Linked DNA regions of Homo sapiens: all the other regions are linked to region 3. Evidence: promoter capture Hi-C in 16 types of primary human blood cells and fetal thymus (Javierre and others, 2016). All regions are on one chromosome and are shown on one strand. The core of a region is centred on a gene start or on the middle of the fragment in contact, and the rest is flanking DNA. Distances in the headings are between cores, read along the strand shown.

Region 1 (3,352 bases), core at 648-3,147, 530 kb before region 3:
AAGATTAAATATTGATCAAACTAAAGTTGTTACATAAGAATATTGAGGCTGCTTTGTCTATGGAGTAGCCATTCTTTTATTCCTTTACTTTCTTAATAAACTGGCTTTCAGAAAAAAAAAAGAAAAAGAATATTGAGAGAATTTGTATTACGTTATTTACCAGGGGAGAAATAAGGTAAAAGTGAACTAAATGTGTATTTTCTATAATAGGAATTCATTAGGTATTGTGTAAAATGAAAACTCAAAATATAGTCATTTTAACATACTATTTAGATATATAGAGGTGAATCCTAGACTTAACAGCTAAATTCACAGATAACAGATTTTAGAGTGGCCAAAATCAGGGCATGCAGGAGCTGGACAAAGAACTGCTAGAGTTTAAGATTTATCGAATTATTTAAACATTAAAATTGGGCATACATTAATTCAATAAGAATAAAATTTCAATTTAAAAATATCGTACAAGAGGAAAATACACATAATTTTGCAGAAGATGAGAACATAAAGAAAACTGTTTAGATACAAAAGGGCAAAAGACTAATAAGCATCTGAAAAATTGTAAACTCTGTTAATGATTAATATATGCGTATAATACAACAAAAATAGTTTGTGTTTGTTGACCTGATACAAATTTCTTTCTTCAAGTTTTAAAATTATTTACTCATGTTTCTGCTGCTAGTCTAATTTTTGCAATCAAGGAGCTGCCTCTTCGTCAAACCCATGGTCTAGTTACTATGGCATTTCCCATATGTTTGAATAGCCATTGTAGAGTTTTGACATCTAGCTTTACTTGTGCCCTTTGGAGATTTGCAACCTGAAACGTAAGTTTACATCTCGTGGTGTAGTTGTGAAGAAGTGAGATGAGATGAATGATATGAAGACATATGTGCATGTCTTGTTTGTAGAGCTCTAAATGCATAATTTTGATTTTAGTGGTTGCTGGGTAGAATGACAAGAGAACTGAATCAGTGAATAAAGTTCTCTTCTTTCTTTTTTAAAAAGACTAAATTTTCTATACAGAGACACTCATGAATTCATTTACATATAATTAAATATGCTTTTTATAAAAATAATAAACTGTACATATGAAACAAATGCTTAATTACACTCTATCTACATACTTGTTTTTATCCGATGACTACTCTACCCCACTCTCCTCTGCTTACTTCCTATTTGGTTCTTGTTCTCTCTCCCATCCTCTTCCACTCATATCCATCACCCAGCATCAAACCAGAAAATCTATTTAGTAGATATTATTCTCTGTTTTCCTCTAGGCATATATAATAATAGATAAGCATATATATGTATATACACACACACACACACACACACACACTATATATATAATATATATATATTAAAAATTGTGTGTGTATATATATATATATATATATATATATATATATGCACACATCTCCTTATCCATATATATATACATACACATATATGGGGAAGTTTTATTGATTTACAAAAGCAATAATTACTATATAATTTTTCTCTATTTTATTTTCTCACTTATTATAAACTCATGGAAATACCCTAATATGGTGACAGCATAATAATTCATGATACAATAGGACTATTTTTACACAGCCATTTTCTATTGATGACCATTCATTTATTTGCTGTTTTGTCTCTATGAATGAGACTTTGTAAAACAATAAGCTTTTATAACAAATATTATTAATCTCTTAATTTAATTAAATCAGCGAAATTAAATTAGATTCTTGGTTTAATCGTAACAAATTATAATCACTTTATTATATATCACTGGCTAAGGTATTTTTTTCTCCCTTAGCTTATAAAAATAGAGATTCCTTCCTCTGTGGTTAGAGAAGATGCTCTTCTCTAGTTCTGTAGCTATAGAATAAGGATTTCAAAAAGTTTGACATATAACCTGTACAGCAAATATGGTTAACAATGCTCCTGATAAAACTAATGTTACTCCTAGCTTCCCCTTCTCTCCTTCTGTCCTCTCCCTTCCTCTCCTCCTTTCTCTTTTCCTGTCTTCTCCTCTCCTTTATTTCCCTCCATTCTCCTTTATTTTCTCCTTTTTTGCTTTTCCTTCTCTGGATATTGTTTCAGATACATTATCTTCATACTCTTCACACAATCTTCACCTAAGCTTGCCCCTTCAGCTAAAATAAAAGATAATTTTCAACTTCCTCCTTAAAAAGTAAGTTTCAGAGATTAAAATTTGTTTCAAACAGGTTCCACATGACACATACTGAACTCATTCCGAGATGTATAAACGGCTGAATAACTACACCTGAATAAAGACTTACATGAGGGCTAAATCCTTCTCAAATTAAATGTGCATTACATGTACCTTCTTTTGGCAGACAAAAACCCATCCTTTATTTGCTGATTCAAAATGAGGCTGTGGAATGCTGAAGTTGAAAGAAGCTACAAGTTGTCTTTTAGAGTTGTATTAATAATAGCTAGTTAGTCCACACTACAGAAGGCTCCCATAGTGGTGGTAGGTGTGAATGCAGACAAGCTATGGCAAGAGAAATAATGGAGATGGAAAAAAAGGCTGGCTTGAGGGGAGTAGGGAGAAAAAACAATATGAGAAGAGAAAGGTGGAAAAGGAAGTCTAGAATGTAATAAACTCAAGGAAACACAGATCAAAAAGGTAGAGCTAAAATTTAATCAGTAAAATTAAAGGAAGAAGAACAGATTGTGGATAGTGATCTAGGTTCAACTGAGGAAACTCTTGCCAGAGTCTATGAGCCAGAGTAGTTGGAGCAGCCTTGTTTTCCAAGGCGGGGAATAATCAATCGCAGAGTTTTAACTTTTATTTTGGAGCTGTGCCTGAAACCCAGACTGAAAAAGTTTGCTTACTTACATGATCAGAAGCTGAAAACAATGTAATTTAATTTAGGCAGCCCATGTGTGAATCTAGTTAAAAACCAATACATTTGGATTAATTATGTATTTTCCAGGTCTGTATCAAGTGCAGTCCATTCAGAAAGCAGAGATAACATCTTCGTACTGCATACATCAAGGGAACAAGAAAATCTATTTTGTATCCTTGGCATTTGATAGAAAATGACTTGAATGATTCCTTTTAGGATGCTGTTTTGTTGACAGTTACAATGTAATTGAAAAAGAAGCCTCCTACTTTGTTTCTTTCATGAGGCAGCATGGATGTGAGCAGTGGCCCAGGCAAGAATGTTTCCGCTGGACACTAGCTTTTGCTTTTTTTAAAAATGCTGATTTTTATTACATTCTAAAAATGAGCTATGCCATGTAAAAAGGCAAGTTTAAAGCAAAAATTGGAATTTTAAAGTTTCTCATTGGAGACATTGGTCAATAGCTGACTAAGAATGGCAATTTATGGCCCGAGGTG
Region 2 (3,260 bases), core at 665-3,164, 530 kb after region 3:
AAAATCAAAAGCTGGTTCTTTAAAAAAATACAAAAAAATTGTCAATTATTTAGATTGATCAAGGAAAAAAGAGAACACTCAAATTAGTAGAATCAGAAATAGTAAAGGATATTTTTACTGATCATACAGAAATAAAAGGGATTAAAAAGGAATACTAGGAACAGTTGTATAACATTAAGTTGGGAAAAATAGATAAAGTAGAAAAATTTATAGAAAGATATAAGGTACCAAAACTGACTCAAGAAGAAATAGACAATGTGAATAGATCTATAACAAGTAGAGAAATTAAATTAGTAATCAAAAAACTACCCACAAAGAGGGGACCAGGGGCAGATGGCTTTACTGATGAATTCCATCAAATATTTAAAGAAGAATTAATAACGAATCTTCACAAACTTTTCCAAAAATAATAAAATGGGAGGGAACACTCCCCATCTTATTCTATGAGGCCAGTATTACCCTGATATCAAAACTAGACAAGAAAACTACAGACCAATATCTCTTATGAATAAGGATACAAAAGCCCTGCATAAAATGCTAACAAGTCAAATACAGCAACAGAAAAAAAGATTTATACACCATGACAAAGTAGAATTCATACCAGGAATACAAAGTTTAACATCTGAAAATCAACTAATACAATATATCATATCAATAGAATGAAAAACAAAAACCATGTGAGCATCTCAATACATGCAGAAAAGCATTTGACAAAACCCAGCACCTTTCCATGATGAAAGCACTTCACAAACTAAGAGCGGAATGGAGCTTCCTCAATCTGATAAAGGAAATCCATGAAAAAAGCTCAGAGCTAACACCATAGTTAATGGTGAATAACTGGATGTTTTACCCTAAGATCAGGAACAAATAGGTATGTTCACTCTTGTCAATTTTATTCAATGTCGTTCTAGAGGTTTTAGCCAAGGCAATTTAGAAGGAAAGGAAAGGAAAGGAAAGGAAGGAAAGGAAAGGAAAAGGAAAAGGAAAAGGGAAAGGGAAAGGGAAAGGGAAAGGGAAAGGAAAGAGGAAAGGAAAGAGGAAAGGAAAAAGGAAAGGAAAGGAAAGGAAAGGAAAGGGGTACCAAAATTGAAAAGAATGAAATAAAATTATATCTGCAGATGACATGATCTTGTCATTAAAAATCCCAAGAAATTTACTTTAAAAAATAATTAGAAGTAATGAGTTCAGCAAATTTGCAGGTTAGAAGATCAATATACAAAAATCAATTGTATTTCTATACAATTGCAATTAACAATCTAAAAATAAAATTTAAAAAATTTAAAAAATCAGAAACAATAAAATACTTAGAAAAATATTTAACAAAAAATGCAAAATTTATATTTTGAGGACTTCAAAATATTGTTAAAAGAAATTTTAAATGATTTCAATAAATTAAAAATAACCCATGTTCATGAATCAGAAGATTTAATATTATAGAGATGGCAATGTTCCTCAAGTTCATCTATAGGTTCAATGCAATCTCTATCACAATCACAGCTAGCTTTTTCTGTAGAAATTGACAAGTTGACTTTAAAATTATATGGAATTGCAAGGTACCCAAAAAAGCTATTTAAAAAAGTCTTGAAACAGAAGGATAAAGTTGGAGGACTCAAACTTCTCAGTGTCAAAACTTACTACAAATCAACAGTAATCAAGACAGTGTGGCACTGTCATAAGGACAAACATACAGAGAAATGGAATAGAATCAAGAATCTAGAATTAAATCCATCTGCCTATGGTGCACTGATTTTTGACAAGCGTTCCAAGCTTTTTAAAGAGAAAAGAACGATCTTTTCAACAAAGGATGCTGGAACAACAAGGTAGCCACATGCCAAAGAATGAAATCGAACCTCTAACTTACACTATATATAGAAATTAACTCAATGGGAGTCAAACACCTAAATATATGAGTGAAAACAATACAACTCTTAGAATAAAATATGGAGGTAAATTTTTGTGATCTTGCAGTTGGTAATACATTCTTAGTTATGACACCAAAAGCATGAGCAGAAAAAGAAAAAATAGTCCAAAACAATAGACTTCATCAAAATTAAAGCTTTTCTGCTTCAAAGAATATGGTCAAGAAAGTAAAAAGACAATCCACAGAATGAGAGAAAAAAATTGAAATCATATATCTGATAGGAGACTTACATCTAAAATATATAAAGAACTCATATAATTCTATAATAAAAATAATAAAAGCCTAATTTTAAAAATTGGGTAAAAGATTTGAATAAACATTTCTCCAAAGAAGTCATAAATGTATAAAAGTATGCTTGATGTCATTAGTCATCAGAGAAATCAAAACCAAAACGACAACACGATGCCATTTCACACCCACCAGGATATCTATACTCAAAAAGTTAGATAAGAGCAAGTGTTGACAAGGATGTGGAAAAATCAGAATCCTTACAGACTGCTGGTGAGAATGGAAAATGGTGCAGCTACTGTGTAAAACAGTCTGGCAGCTCCTCAGAAGGTTAAGCATAGAGTTACCATGTGACTCAAAATTTTACTCCTAGATATCTACCAGGGAAGATGAAAACATACATCCACACAAAAACCCATACATGAATATTTATACCAGCATTATTCATAATAGCCAAAAGGTAGAAACAACCCAAATGTCTATCAACTGATCAATGACCAAACAAAACATTATACATCCATCCATACGATGAAACATTATTTGGCCATAAAAAGGAAGTACTGCAGCCAGGCGCAGTGGCTCATGCCTGTAATCCCAGCACTTTGGGAGGCCGAGGTGGGTGGATCACGAGGTCAGCAGTTAGAGACCAGCCTGGCCAGCATGGTGAAACCCCGTCTTTGCTAAAAATACAAAAAATTAGCCTGGCATGGTGGAGCAGGCCTGTAATGCTAGCTACTCGGGAGGCTGAGGCAGGAGAATTGCTTGAACCCGGGAGGCGGAGGTTGCAGTGAGCTGAGATCATGCCACTGCACTCTAGCCTGGGCGACAAAGTGAGACTCTGTCTCAAAAAAAAAAAAAAAAAGAAAAAAAAAGAGGAAGTACTACCACACGCTTTGACACGAATGAACCTTGAAAACATTATGTTAAGGGAAAGAAGGAAATTACATAAGACAAAGACTATGTATTATATAATTCCATTTACATGAAATATCCTGAACAGGCAAATCCATAAAGACAGAAGGCACTTCAGTGTTTGTCTGGAGATAGGAGGGATGGGGGGTAGTAGCTAAAAAATATGGGGCTTCTTTATGAGGTGATAAAAATGTTCTAA
Region 3 (2,985 bases), core at 376-2,875:
GGGTGAGACCGCAGCGAGGCAGAGAGCGCGCTGGGGACATTCTAGAGCAGGAGCTCAGAAGAAGGCAGCTAGTTCCAGGGTAGCTGCAAATGGATTGGGTTAAAGCTGGACGAGTGAAGCACCATGTTTTCCTAACACTGCTTTCAAGAACACCCCGCATGGGGCAAGATCGCAGGTGCTATTCGGGAATTTTGACCGTACAAGCAGGTACTTCCCTGTAAAGTAAAAGCATTCTGTAAGTCGCTCGACAGAATGCAATATTAGGCGTGTGTATGCGCAAGTTTTAATTTTCCACTGGTGCTCCCACGTGAAGGCACATTTCTTAGTAAATGAACGGCAGCTAGGACAGTGCATATGTATGCATTTTCTATCTTTATTTTTTTTTTGTAAATGGGAAAGAATAGTGCACCTTCAACATGGACAACAGAATCTTGAGAAATGTTCTAGGTGGCAAGAAAAGTGGGAAATGAAGGATGACTTTTAGTTAAGGGAAGAAGGAAATCTGCAGTGAGCCAACCCTTCCCTCCCCCCCGCCCCCCCATTTCGGAAGCCCATGCTGTCGCCCTGAGTAATCTTGTTCCTGTCTATTAATGAATTAAGTTAAAAGGCTTAGACTGTAGACTTTAGCTACTGCATGAAGCAAAATAGTAAGGAAGCTCTTCAAAAAGCCTCCATTCATAGATAACCCCCCTTAAAAATGAAATTCTAATAAACGGAAAAACTACAAGTCGACACAATCAAAAGCAAATCCCAGCAAGAGCAGAAGGTACTTGAAACTCGAATCTGCATTCCGTTCCTCCCGTACAAGGCTCGGAGGTGGGGGAGGCGGTTTGTGCTGGTGCCTGGTGTATAATCGGGTTAATCCAGTAGACAAAGAATAAACCAATAGCCCTCCCACCTCACTTCCCGCTCCCCTTCCCCTCCCCCTTCTTCTCCCCCCGCCCCAGCCCCCGTCACCCGCTCCGCAAAGGGGAACAGAAAAGGGGAGAGGTAGACTTGAAATGGATTCTGGATAAAGTCTTAAAACCTGCAACTTGTTTTTCATGCTAACACTGCGTGGCCCAGATTAGTCTTAAATGTTCATTCCCCTTTCCTGGTGGCAAGGAGAAAGTTCCCTAAGTCAGCTCGAGCCTCTGGCTCGTCCTCATTGCCTCTGGGCAAACCTTAAGGTCAGTGTTTCCTTGAAACTAGATAAACTGACCCTGCAGTGCCCAGCCCGGCCCCGCGGGCGCCCCGCGTGACGGCGCTCGGGCGGCAGGACCGGCCTGGGGACGCGCGGGGCGGCGCGGTTGCCCTTTTGAATGCCTCCTGCGGCTCGGAGCGCTGGCGGGCGCTGGAGTGTGAGTGAATGTAGCCCCGCGGAGCCAATGAGCTGGGACCGGATGCGATATATCCTCTGGGACAACAACTGCTCTGTTCCGCCTCGGATCCACATGACGCCATTTACTGCTGCCGCGGCCGCCGCAGAGCTCCCTGCCTCCTCCGGAAAGGCGAGGGCGCAGGCCAACGGCGAGCCCCCCCCGGGCGGGCCCCAGACCCTCCTCCTCCTCCTCCTCCTCCTCTTCCTCCTCCTCCGCACCCACCGCCCCCGCCTCGGCCTCGCTGCCTCGCCTCCACAACGCCCAGTCTGCACCGCCGAGAGCTGCGCGCCGCAGCGCTAGCGGAGGAGAGGGGCCGGCGGAGCGCGCAGCGCCCAGGCCCCCGCGCCCGCCCGGCCCGGCCCGGCCCGCGCCCCCGCGCCGCCTCCGCTACGACGCGGCCCCGGCCGCACCACTTGGCGATCTGGCTTTAGGTTCTCCGTAAGGCCGTTTTCTTTTCCCATTCGCTCATCTGCCAGGAAAAGGGACTTGCCGTTGGCGCTTCGGCCTCTTGTTCATTGAGAAAAAAGAGGAAATACTCCGCGTGCGCTTGTAGAAGGGGAGTCGTCTCCAGCTCCGAACCCCGGAGTGTTCATCAGCGGGGAATCTGGCTCCGAATTCTCTTTTTTTCTCCCGCCGATTGCTCGGAAGTTGGTCTAAAGCAGAGGTTGGAAAGAAAGGAAAAAAGTTTGCATCGAGACTGGATTTATTTGCACATCGCAGAAAGAAGAGAATCCAAGGGAGAGGGGTTGGTGCAAAGCCGCGATCACGGTGAGGCACGTTTGGCTCTTCCCCTCCTGGCGCCGCGGCCGGCGCGTTGTGGGCAACATGGAGTAGGTGCAGCCGGACCAGGAGTTGGGTCCGTCTCTCCCCGAGCCTCCCTTTCTCAAATCCCGCAGGGTCTTCGCGAGGATCCGGGGCGCTCCCCGCGGACCTGCCTCGCCCGGGGCTTGGGCTCGGCCTGCCTCTGCGGGGACTTCTGTATGCACCCCGTGCAGTGTCCCCGACAGGCGACCCCGCGCGCCCGCGCTCTAGGGGGTTGGGACGGAGGACAGCTAGCCTGAAGTCTGCTCCCAGCCGTGCACTGGCCGCGAATTCGGCGCTGAGAGCGGGAGAGGGAGAGAAAAACACTTTGTATTTTCCAGGTTGCCTTTGCAGGCGCCCGCATTTCTAACCTGTTCTTCCTCTTGGTGGAAGGCAAAGTCCAGGGAGAGGCTGTCCCTAGGCGGGGCGCTGGTGGGGCTGGGGGACACAGGTTGCCCGCCTCGGGGGCAGGAGACTTCCAGGGTGAGAAAAAGGCAGGGTGCCGGGTGGAGGGAGTGCCCGCCTCTGCTCCGTGTGGACAGTCTAGCCCGGAGCGGGTGGGAGCGTCGCCCTGCCTGGCGCCGGGTCTCTGCGGTTCGGAAGTGCAGCTCTCTCTCTTCCGTTCTTCGTGGTCAGCCTGGGTCACACTTATTTTATTTTTGGAAGCTCGGGCTGACCCAGCGCAGGAAGAAAGTCATCAAGCGGTCGCGATCATTTTCCATTACCTGAAAGTAGGTGGCAAAATAGGCAATTTTTTATTTCCTTTTGTTGTTGTTGTTGCTGTGTTTTAATTTGGATTCTTGTGTGTTTTTTACAAAGCAGT

Evidence for each region. The method cuts DNA at HindIII sites, captures the fragments that hold promoters and counts their contacts. A CHiCAGO score of 5 or more calls a contact.
Region 1: a fragment that was not itself captured here is called in contact with the fragment with the promoter of SPRY2 in region 3 in 2 of 17 cell types (naive B cells and M1 macrophages); the score reaches 6.0 in naive B cells.
Region 2: a fragment that was not itself captured here is called in contact with the fragment with the promoter of SPRY2 in region 3 in 5 of 17 cell types (monocytes, M0 macrophages, M1 macrophages and 2 more); the score reaches 8.4 in monocytes.

The regions. Positions count from the first base shown.
Region 1 is chr13:80,866,561-80,869,912 of GRCh38, reverse strand. No RefSeq gene overlaps it. Among named protein-coding and RNA genes, the nearest start is that of LINC00377, 150 kb to the left of the region's middle. The HindIII fragment of the contact is 460 bases long and covers 1,668-2,127 here.
Region 2 is chr13:79,812,958-79,816,217 of GRCh38, reverse strand. No RefSeq gene overlaps it. Among named protein-coding and RNA genes, the nearest start is that of LINC01038, 10 kb to the right of the region's middle. The HindIII fragment of the contact is 289 bases long and covers 1,770-2,058 here.
Region 3 is chr13:80,339,766-80,342,750 of GRCh38, reverse strand. SPRY2 (sprouty RTK signaling antagonist 2) reads left to right here and starts at 1,625. Exons shown (of 2, transcript NM_005842.4): 1 at 1,625-2,129. RefSeq lists silencers at 1,208-1,257, 1,488-1,677. The HindIII fragment of the contact is 9,098 bases long and covers 1-2,985 here.